Linked DNA regions of Homo sapiens: all the other regions are linked to region 3. Evidence: promoter capture Hi-C in 16 types of primary human blood cells and fetal thymus (Javierre and others, 2016). All regions are on one chromosome and are shown on one strand. Each heading gives the region's core, a stretch centred on a gene start or on the middle of the fragment in contact. The rest is flanking DNA. Distances are from core to core; before and after follow the strand shown.

What was found. Contacts are between HindIII fragments. The CHiCAGO score rates a contact against its expected background, and 5 or more counts as called.
Region 1: a contact is called between a fragment that was not itself captured here and the fragment with the promoter of SNX7 in region 3, in 4 of 17 cell types (non-activated CD4 T cells, fetal thymus, activated CD4 T cells and 1 more). The highest score is 5.6, in non-activated CD4 T cells.
Region 2: a fragment that was not itself captured here is called in contact with the fragment with the promoter of SNX7 in region 3 in 4 of 17 cell types (neutrophils, total CD4 T cells, naive CD4 T cells and 1 more); the score reaches 6.4 in neutrophils.

What each region holds. Positions count from the first base shown.
Region 1 is chr1:99,491,667-99,494,366 of GRCh38, forward strand. No RefSeq gene overlaps it. Among named protein-coding and RNA genes, the nearest start is that of LINC01708, 5.2 kb to the left of the region's middle. The HindIII fragment of the contact is 3,914 bases long and covers 1-2,700 here.
Region 2 is chr1:99,537,736-99,540,435 of GRCh38, forward strand. No RefSeq gene overlaps it. Among named protein-coding and RNA genes, the nearest start is that of LINC01708, 51 kb to the left of the region's middle. The HindIII fragment of the contact is 8,149 bases long and covers 1-2,700 here.
Region 3 is chr1:98,660,400-98,663,099 of GRCh38, forward strand. SNX7 (sorting nexin 7) reads left to right here and starts at 1,322. Exons shown (of 9, transcript NM_015976.5): 1 at 1,322-1,512. The coding sequence starts at 1,333. It overlaps SNX7-DT (SNX7 divergent transcript), which reads right to left and starts at 373. Exons shown (of 1, transcript NR_189290.1): 1 at 1-373. RefSeq lists silencers at 1,124-1,263, 1,284-1,403, 1,634-1,703. The HindIII fragment of the contact is 2,557 bases long and covers 557-2,700 here.

The DNA of each region.
Region 1 (2,700 bases), core at 15-2,514, 830 kb after region 3:
TGCAAAATAGCCTATTGAGGAGGATAAAAATTTACTACCAACTTCATTTGGCCTCCCTGACCAATCGCCTCTAATGGCTACTCTGTGTTATCTTCCCCATGTTCTCTGCTGTTTATGTCTTTCCTGCTGCCTCTTTCGCTGCTCGGCTTCCTCTCTGTGCTTCACGCATTTTACCACTGGCATGCAATCCACTGAAGGATGTTCCCGCAGAGATTTTCCACTCCGTGGAGGAGTCAGAGATTCACCATTAACCCCAAACTGGCCTACTGGCATTTACAGAACTGTCCAATAATGTCCCTCCTCCCTTCTCATCAGCTGGTGTATGCTTGGAAAATACAAGCAATTATGATATTGTCCTGAGGTAAACATAATTAGGAATCAAATCATTAGAGAAAAAAATCCACCATAATGCTTTTTAAGCCAAATATAAATGATTTATTAAAAGCAATCTATATTCGTTTGTCAGACTGATTTCCAGAACTGAAAATCTCATTTAATATTTCTATCCTTACCTAAAATGGTACTTAAAAGGTTATTTGAAATGTTATTTGTGATTACTAACTCTTATGGTCTTGCAGAAATCAAAATACCACAGACAAATATAGGCAAGGGTAACAAGGCAGCTGTAAATGTTTTTCCTCTAAACAGATTCTCAAAAGTTCTTTTTACTGAAAAAAAAAATCAACCACGCAAATGAGCTCTGCTAGGAAATATTAATAAATCTGCATGCAAAATTTGATCCAGTAAATATTAGGTGCCTGGTATGTATGGCACTGGCAAAATGCAGAGATAAATAAATCCTCAAACTCTCTGTCCCTCAGTATCTTCATTTGCAAAATGGTAATAACAATAGTACTTACCTCAAGTACGTGTTGTAAGGATTAAAGGAGTTAACACATATGAACACTTAGGGGTGGGCCTGGCACCTAGTAAGTGTTCAAGAATGTTAGCTGTAATTTTTATTATTTACAATGATGAAGAAGTTTTAGCCGGGCATGGGAGATTTAAATGTAAACATAAAAATATGGACCCCACTGTGGTTGTTCCAGATGTTTTTAGTATTTTTTAAACCTCACTTGCCTTGAAAATGCATCTATATGAGTAGCACCTCCACCATAAGTCTGATCAACATTGGACATCTCAGAGACTTGAAACCAAACCAATAAAATAAGGGCTAATAGTACCTTTTCATTCCCTCCACTCATTTCCAGAGAAAACCGGGAAGATAGTTCTTTCTGTGGGAGACCCAAGTTTCCAGCTCAGGCTAATGCCTGGATATCTTCTTGAATATTCTAAAGTGAACCTAAAAGACATCAGATAAACCCTGAAATATAATTTATTTGTTTCATTTGGTTGTGTGTGTGTCTTCTGAAATCTATAAAATGGGGATAATTACACAAAATGACAATATATAATAATATATAATGCTGTGAGCCAGACCTTGCTACAAGAAATTTCCATATATTAACTCATTTAATTCTCACTATAACCAATTATTGTTCTCAATTTACAAATGAAGAAGCTAAGGCACAGAGTAGCTGCTCATATAGATGTATCTTGCCCAACGTCACACAATTAATTAGCCAGGATTTGAAACTAGTAATGCTCTTAACTACAATATTATACTGGTCCCTACTCAGCACTTACATTATAAATTATGCCTATACCAAAATTTCTGATATGTCAAGACCAAAAGCTCCAGGAGCTCCTTAGAGGAGCACAAAGAACATTGGCTTTGTCCTGTTTAACAAAGTCTGTGTGGTTCCTATAACTAGGGTCACCATACATCTAATTCTGCCTGGGACAGTCCAGGTTTGTACCTGTTTCCCCAGTGAAAATTATAAATAGCACCCCCTTTCACCTTCAACAGTAATGTAAATTATATGTCTGATCTTTAACTTAATAGTTCCAAATGTGAGAAATGAGTTTGTATGTGTGTATATACACATATACACACATATGTTGCCGCCTGAGATTTTGAATCATTTACCCTTAAAATGCTTTGCTACTTTTTCTTGCACAGATTTCTATCTCAAAAATAAAATCAGAATATTCACTCAGCAAAAGAGTGGAGGGGGTATAAAGGAGTAACAGGCCCTGACACCTATGACACAAAGTATTGGTAATAATTCTGACTAGAACTCAGCTTATTCTCCCGTTGTCCTGCTTAGTTCATGAACTATTGTTGAAGTTGTTTTGTAAAATGCATTTGAATGTATCTTTGACAAACATACTGTTAGTCACTTTTCATTGTTTTGTAATCTCCAAATTGATATGTTCACTTGCTTGATCGTTGAAAGAGGAGCATCCTATTTTCATTCATGGGGTTTCCTTGAGGTTTCATTGAGGTTTCAAACTTTCATGCATTTGTTAGGGTATGTATAAAGTAACAGATTGTTTTCCCTGCTACACTTTCACCATTTCTTGTCCTGATTCAGTTGTCTTTGATGCTGCTTTGTTTTATGAATTTAGTTTGCCTTCTCTCAATCCAAGAAAAAAAAAAGAAGTAGAAGAAAGAAAAGAAACAATTACATCACCTTTATATGCTTTCTGGGTATCTTCCTTCCACTTATCATTTCTTCAAAAATGGAGTGACTCTCTTGACATGGACTATAAGTAGATATCTGACTGGAATGCCCCTTGTGCCTTCTCCCTCTGGTGAAATATTACCTATCATTCCAAGCCCACATTAAATATCTT
Region 2 (2,700 bases), core at 50-2,549, 880 kb after region 3:
ATCAGCATTATTCTTATATCAGATGTTCATGTTAACAGTTCTTCACAGATTAATTTAGCATGATTAGTAATTACAGGAACATAGTTTGCAAATTATTTACTTTTTGAGTGTGATGTTAAAGGGTAGTCCACAAGACTACCCCCACTTCTGACACCATTTCAAGTTTAGGATCTCTAAGACCATACTTAGGTTTAATAATGCACTAGAAAGACTCACAGAGCTCTCTGGATGCTGTTATACTTATGATGACAGTTTAGGATGCAGGTTAGGTTAGGCTGAAAGGCTTACATCCTGACTCTGACTAAAGAATCCTGTCGTGAGTTCCTCAAATCTTGTCGGGAGTTCCTCAAATTGTTGACATACTAATTAATACGTAACCTACTAACATCGAAAAGAACACTGATTTGTTTCTGAGTCATGAACTTTTACTGGTTGTCTTGCATGTAGAACATTTTAGCTTTTATGTTGTAATCTGTAGCCAATGATTATAACCTCCGTATTGCACCCCACAATGAAAAGGACAATTTTGGTGTGAGGAGTCCTCCTCCCTTCTTCTAAACTTTCCTGTAAAAGCCTTCCAACTGGTAGTGGACTGTGGAATATGCCCAACTTTTTTGGTGTGTTTTCCCAGGTCAGTCCTCACAGTTGGCTTCCAACAAACTTTTGTCAAATTATTTCTGCCTCAGCAGCCTTAATTTTGGTTGACATGACTCAAAACTTCCATTATAAATTGCACTGTTAGGCTGTCTGGCACAGCCTAAATTCCCAAATAAGACACTCCTATCAGGTATGACATTGCAAGAACATAGAGATTACCTCCCAGAAGCTGAGGGCAAAGGCCAGATCTCTCTTTGGAAAAGGTTAAATTCTTTATTCCACAAAGAATTTAAATAAGTCCAAGGTTTGTTTTTGTTTTTGTTTTTTTCCAAAAACACTCTTTTCACTTGTATTTTGATATACTTTCTGAAGTAGGAGATCTAGAGGTCCAATTATAGCTACGGGGTCAGGATGTGAATGTGAACGTCATCTTCTTGGCATGCAGTTATTTCAGTGTCTCTACAAGTGTAAGCATAGATTAGCATCAAACTACAGTAGAGACCAACCTGCAATTATAGCTAATTCATGTGACCAAATTAGGGAATCTAAATAAGGAGAAAGATTTTAGTGTCCTTAATTTAGGATCCAGCCCAATAACTAGACTCTGAAGCCAGGCCTATCCTGCACTGTTATCCCAAAAATCAGTCCTCTTCTTAATTCTACCATCTTTTCCTATAGTGCATTTCAGACTCCTTGCTATTCATTTTTTTTGACTACCAAAAGATAAATAAATGGACCAGGTTCAGTGGCTCACACCTGTAATCCCAGCACTTTGAGAGGCCAAGATGAGGCGATCACCTGAGCCCAGAGATTTGAGACCAGCCTGGGAAACATAGGGAGACTCTGTCTCCAGAATTAGCTGGGCATGTTGGTGCCCACCTGTAGTCCCAGCTACTTGGGAGGCTGAGACAGGAGGATTGCTTGATCTCAGAAGGTCAAGGCTACAGTGAGAGTGAGTCATGATAATGCCACTATACTCCAGGCTGAGCAATAGAATGAGAAACTGTCTCAAATAAATAAACAAATAGATTATTTATCCATCTGGATCTCCAAGTTTCACTCCATTCTGTCTAGAGTTGATCTTTAAACAATGTGAGGTTAGGAGTGCTGACCTCCCACACAGTCAAAAATTCACATACAACTTTTGACTCCCCAAAAACTTAACTACTAATAGCTTACTGTTGACAGAAAGTCTTACTGATAACATGAACAGTTAACATATATTTTATATTTTCCATGTATTATATGTTGTATTCTTACAATAAAGTAAGCTAGAGAAAAGAAAATGTTATTAAGGAAATCATAAGGAAGAGAAAATACATTTACTGTTCATTAAGTGGAAGTGGATCTTCATAAAGTCTTCATCCTCATCATCCTCATGTTGAGTAGCCTGAGGAATGGAGGAAGAGAAGGGGTTGTTCTTGCTGCCTCAGAGATAGCAGAGGCGAAAGGAAATCCACATATAAGTGGACCTACACAGTTTAAACCCATGTTGTTCAACAATCAACTGTATTAGCAAACCTACTGAAGTCTCAAAGGCCTAGGTCTTTCCATTGAAAGCAACAGTAACCTAATTCCAGTAAATCTGGGCAAAAAATAAAAATAAAAAGACACTGATGTGCTCAAAGAGAGAACTCCATGTAAAGATGAAGGGAGATTAGGGTAATGCAACAGAGCCAAAGAATGCCAAAAGATTGCCAAAACCCACCAGAAACTAAAGGGATGCATGGAACTAATTTCTGCCTCACCCCCTAGGAAGTAACCAACCCTACTGATACCTGATACCTCCAGAACTGTTATACAATAAATTTCTGTTGTTTAAGCCAGTTTATTCCCAACTTTTTGGCATCAGGGACCAGTTTTGTGGAAGATAATTTTTCCACAGCCAGGCATGGGAGTTGGCTTCAGGATGATTCAAGTACATTACATTTATTTTGCACTTTATTCCTATTACTATTACATTGTAATATATAATGAAATAATTATACAACTCACCGTAATGTAGAATCAGTGGGAGCCCTGAGTTTGTTTTCATGCAGCTAGTCAGTCCCATCTGTGGGTGATGGGAGACAGTGACAGATCATCAGGCATTGGATTTTCATA
Region 3 (2,700 bases), core at 72-2,571:
ATATCAGGATCCTCAACCTGAAAATGTTATCATTTACTAAGGAATGGAAAACTTGTACATGAAACAAATACAATCTGCAAGATGGAATAAAATTAAATGCTAAATTGAGAACAGACTGTCATTTAGAAAGTCTTTCTGAAAGAGATGGGACTATATTTAATTTCTGAAGGATGGGCAGGAGATGGCATTTAAAGTACAGAAATCATCAAGCACAGAAACAAATGTGGATACTCATGGGGCAGTGACCAACCTGACTGAAGGGTGGGTGCACGTCTGAAATCAATGGGAATACATTTGAATGATTAGGAGATAATATATTATTAAGGCCTTGCCTCTAATCAGAAATAAAGATATTCTCTATTTCCCCAAATAAGGAATTCTTACATAGAGCTTAATGTATTTAAAAATTTTTAAATGGGCCTACAGAAAAGAGGTGGGGCTGACGGAAGTAAATAAAACCTGAAGATAAATTAAAGAATATATCAACGTGGGCAAAATTTTCCATTAGTTTTGGAACTTAGTTTTGTTTTTGAATAATAAGCAGTTAAATAATTAAAGCTTTGCCTTGGCAATGCAAGGACTGAAGATTATTTCTCGGTGGCAATTTTCCAGACTTGCTAGTTGTCCTTGGGTCTTGGTAACATTCTGCTCATTAACTTCAGGAAGACGTCCAGGAGTAAAGATGCATTTGAAAGTGGCTGAAAATAGTTTGTAAAGCTCAGCTTTCCTGGCTCGACAGTGAAATGACCGCACAGGCCAGTCACTGGGTCAAAAATCAATTAACAAAACGGGAAGTTTTCATGTCTTTATTTTTACATTAGCTCGAAAATCACAACCAAGAAGAAAGGCAACCACTGAATACAGGAAATACAGTATTGTTATTGCTGTTTTTTTTTTTTCTCTTGGCAAGGCTGGGTCGGGTGCCTTCCAGCCTCGCTGTGGATCCCGCGAAGTGGACGGTTCGCTTCGTGGCTTCTTCCCAGACCCCGCCACTGCGGAAACCGTCACTCGGTGGCCCCCGACTGGGTCAATGCGAGGACGCCCACCTCCTACCTTTGAGTCTCTCCTCTTCTCCAGGGTACAGCCAACCCTTTCTCCAACGTAGCCGGAGTCCGAGAGTCCCAGTTCCGCCCCTCCAGCCCGCCCCAGGCCAGGTGGGGATGCGCCCGGCCCGGGCCAGCGCTGGTCCCGGCAGTTCCGCGTCTGCGCAGCGGGCGAGGGGCTGGAGCGGGGCCGGCCGGGGAGGTGCAGGAGACGTGGGAGCCAATGGGCACGCTCGGGGGAGCCGGGCTGGCGGCGGCGGTGGCGGCCGGCTGGGCGCGCACTCTCGGGATGGAGGGCGAGCGCCGGGCATCGCAGGCGCCCTCCTCGGGCCTCCCGGCCGGGGGCGCCAACGGGGAGAGCCCGGGGGGCGGCGCCCCCTTTCCGGGCAGCAGTGGCTCTTCCGCCCTGCTGCAGGCGGAGGTGCTGGATCTGGACGAGGACGAGGACGACCTGGAGGTGTTCAGCAAGGTGAGGGCGGCGGCGGCGAGTCCCGGGAAACTTCCAAGGCAACTCCGGGCGTTGCCAGCATTGCGCCGACGGCTGCCTCTGGCGCGCTTGCCCTCCCGGGGCGGTGGCTCTGAGCTGGGGACGAGTGAGGTCCCCCGGGCTGCTGGACCCCGCCTGCCAGCTCTGGCCGCACCCGGGGCCGCGTCGCCTCGGGGCCTCAAACCGCAGCCGCTCCCTCCTCCGCACTTTGACCTTCCGTTCGGCGGGGCTGTGGCTTAGTGGAGTCTGCAAAGTTGTGATTTGTTTTCCCTTTCTGCTTCTCTGACACAGACATCTTCCTCGCGGCAGCTCCCGAACCTGGGAGGCTGGTGGCTCAAAACCGCTCCCGCCAGCTGCTTTTCGGGCGAGGCCAGCCCTGAACTCTGGGAGAGCAGCCAAGTTTAGAGAAATTATTCTTAATTTAGTGTTGTTGCTTGTGGATTTGAGACTTGGGTGAGTCTCGGGTCTTGTGGGAATAGGTTCTAGGAAATCTCCCTGAACAGGAGAAAACGGTTGTTTCTAACAGGAAGCTCCTCCGCTGAGGAGCTAAGGATTTTTCAGATGGTCAGCTACTGCCACCCAACCCACAGCCAGTGCTTTCGTTTTTCCTTGCCCCCGGGAAATTTAGGACCAAAGGCTCTTATTTGCTTATTTTACTGTTGGAGGGAAATTGACTTGTGGGGGCTAGTGGTAGACTTTTGGTACGTGTAGACTGGTGTTTGTAATTTCTTAAAGGGTTTTAGAAAAGAAAAATACCTTTCTTGCAGGGAGGTTGAATGTCACTCCAGTTTCTCAAGTTGCTGCTGAGAGAAGACCTGAGTTCAGATCACAACGCTGTATTCATTACTAAGAAGCCTGTTCATTTTAACGTTACCTGGAGATATTAGGTAAAGCAAACGACCTACTTAACCACCGCATTTACTCTGGGAGAGCAAACCAAAGTTAGGAAGTGACCATGCATACTCTGACTCCAAAGAGGAGTATATAAAACTTATTTCTACTTCGGTTTAAATGGAATGATAGGCCCAGGTTTGTATTCCGAATATTTAAACAGACTATCACAGTTTTGTGCTCTTGACTTTTCTGTTAAGTAGTAAAACAATGGAATTATTTTATGTTTAGTTGTAAACTCTGCCTTTTTATATTCCACACATACTTCATGTTCAGATC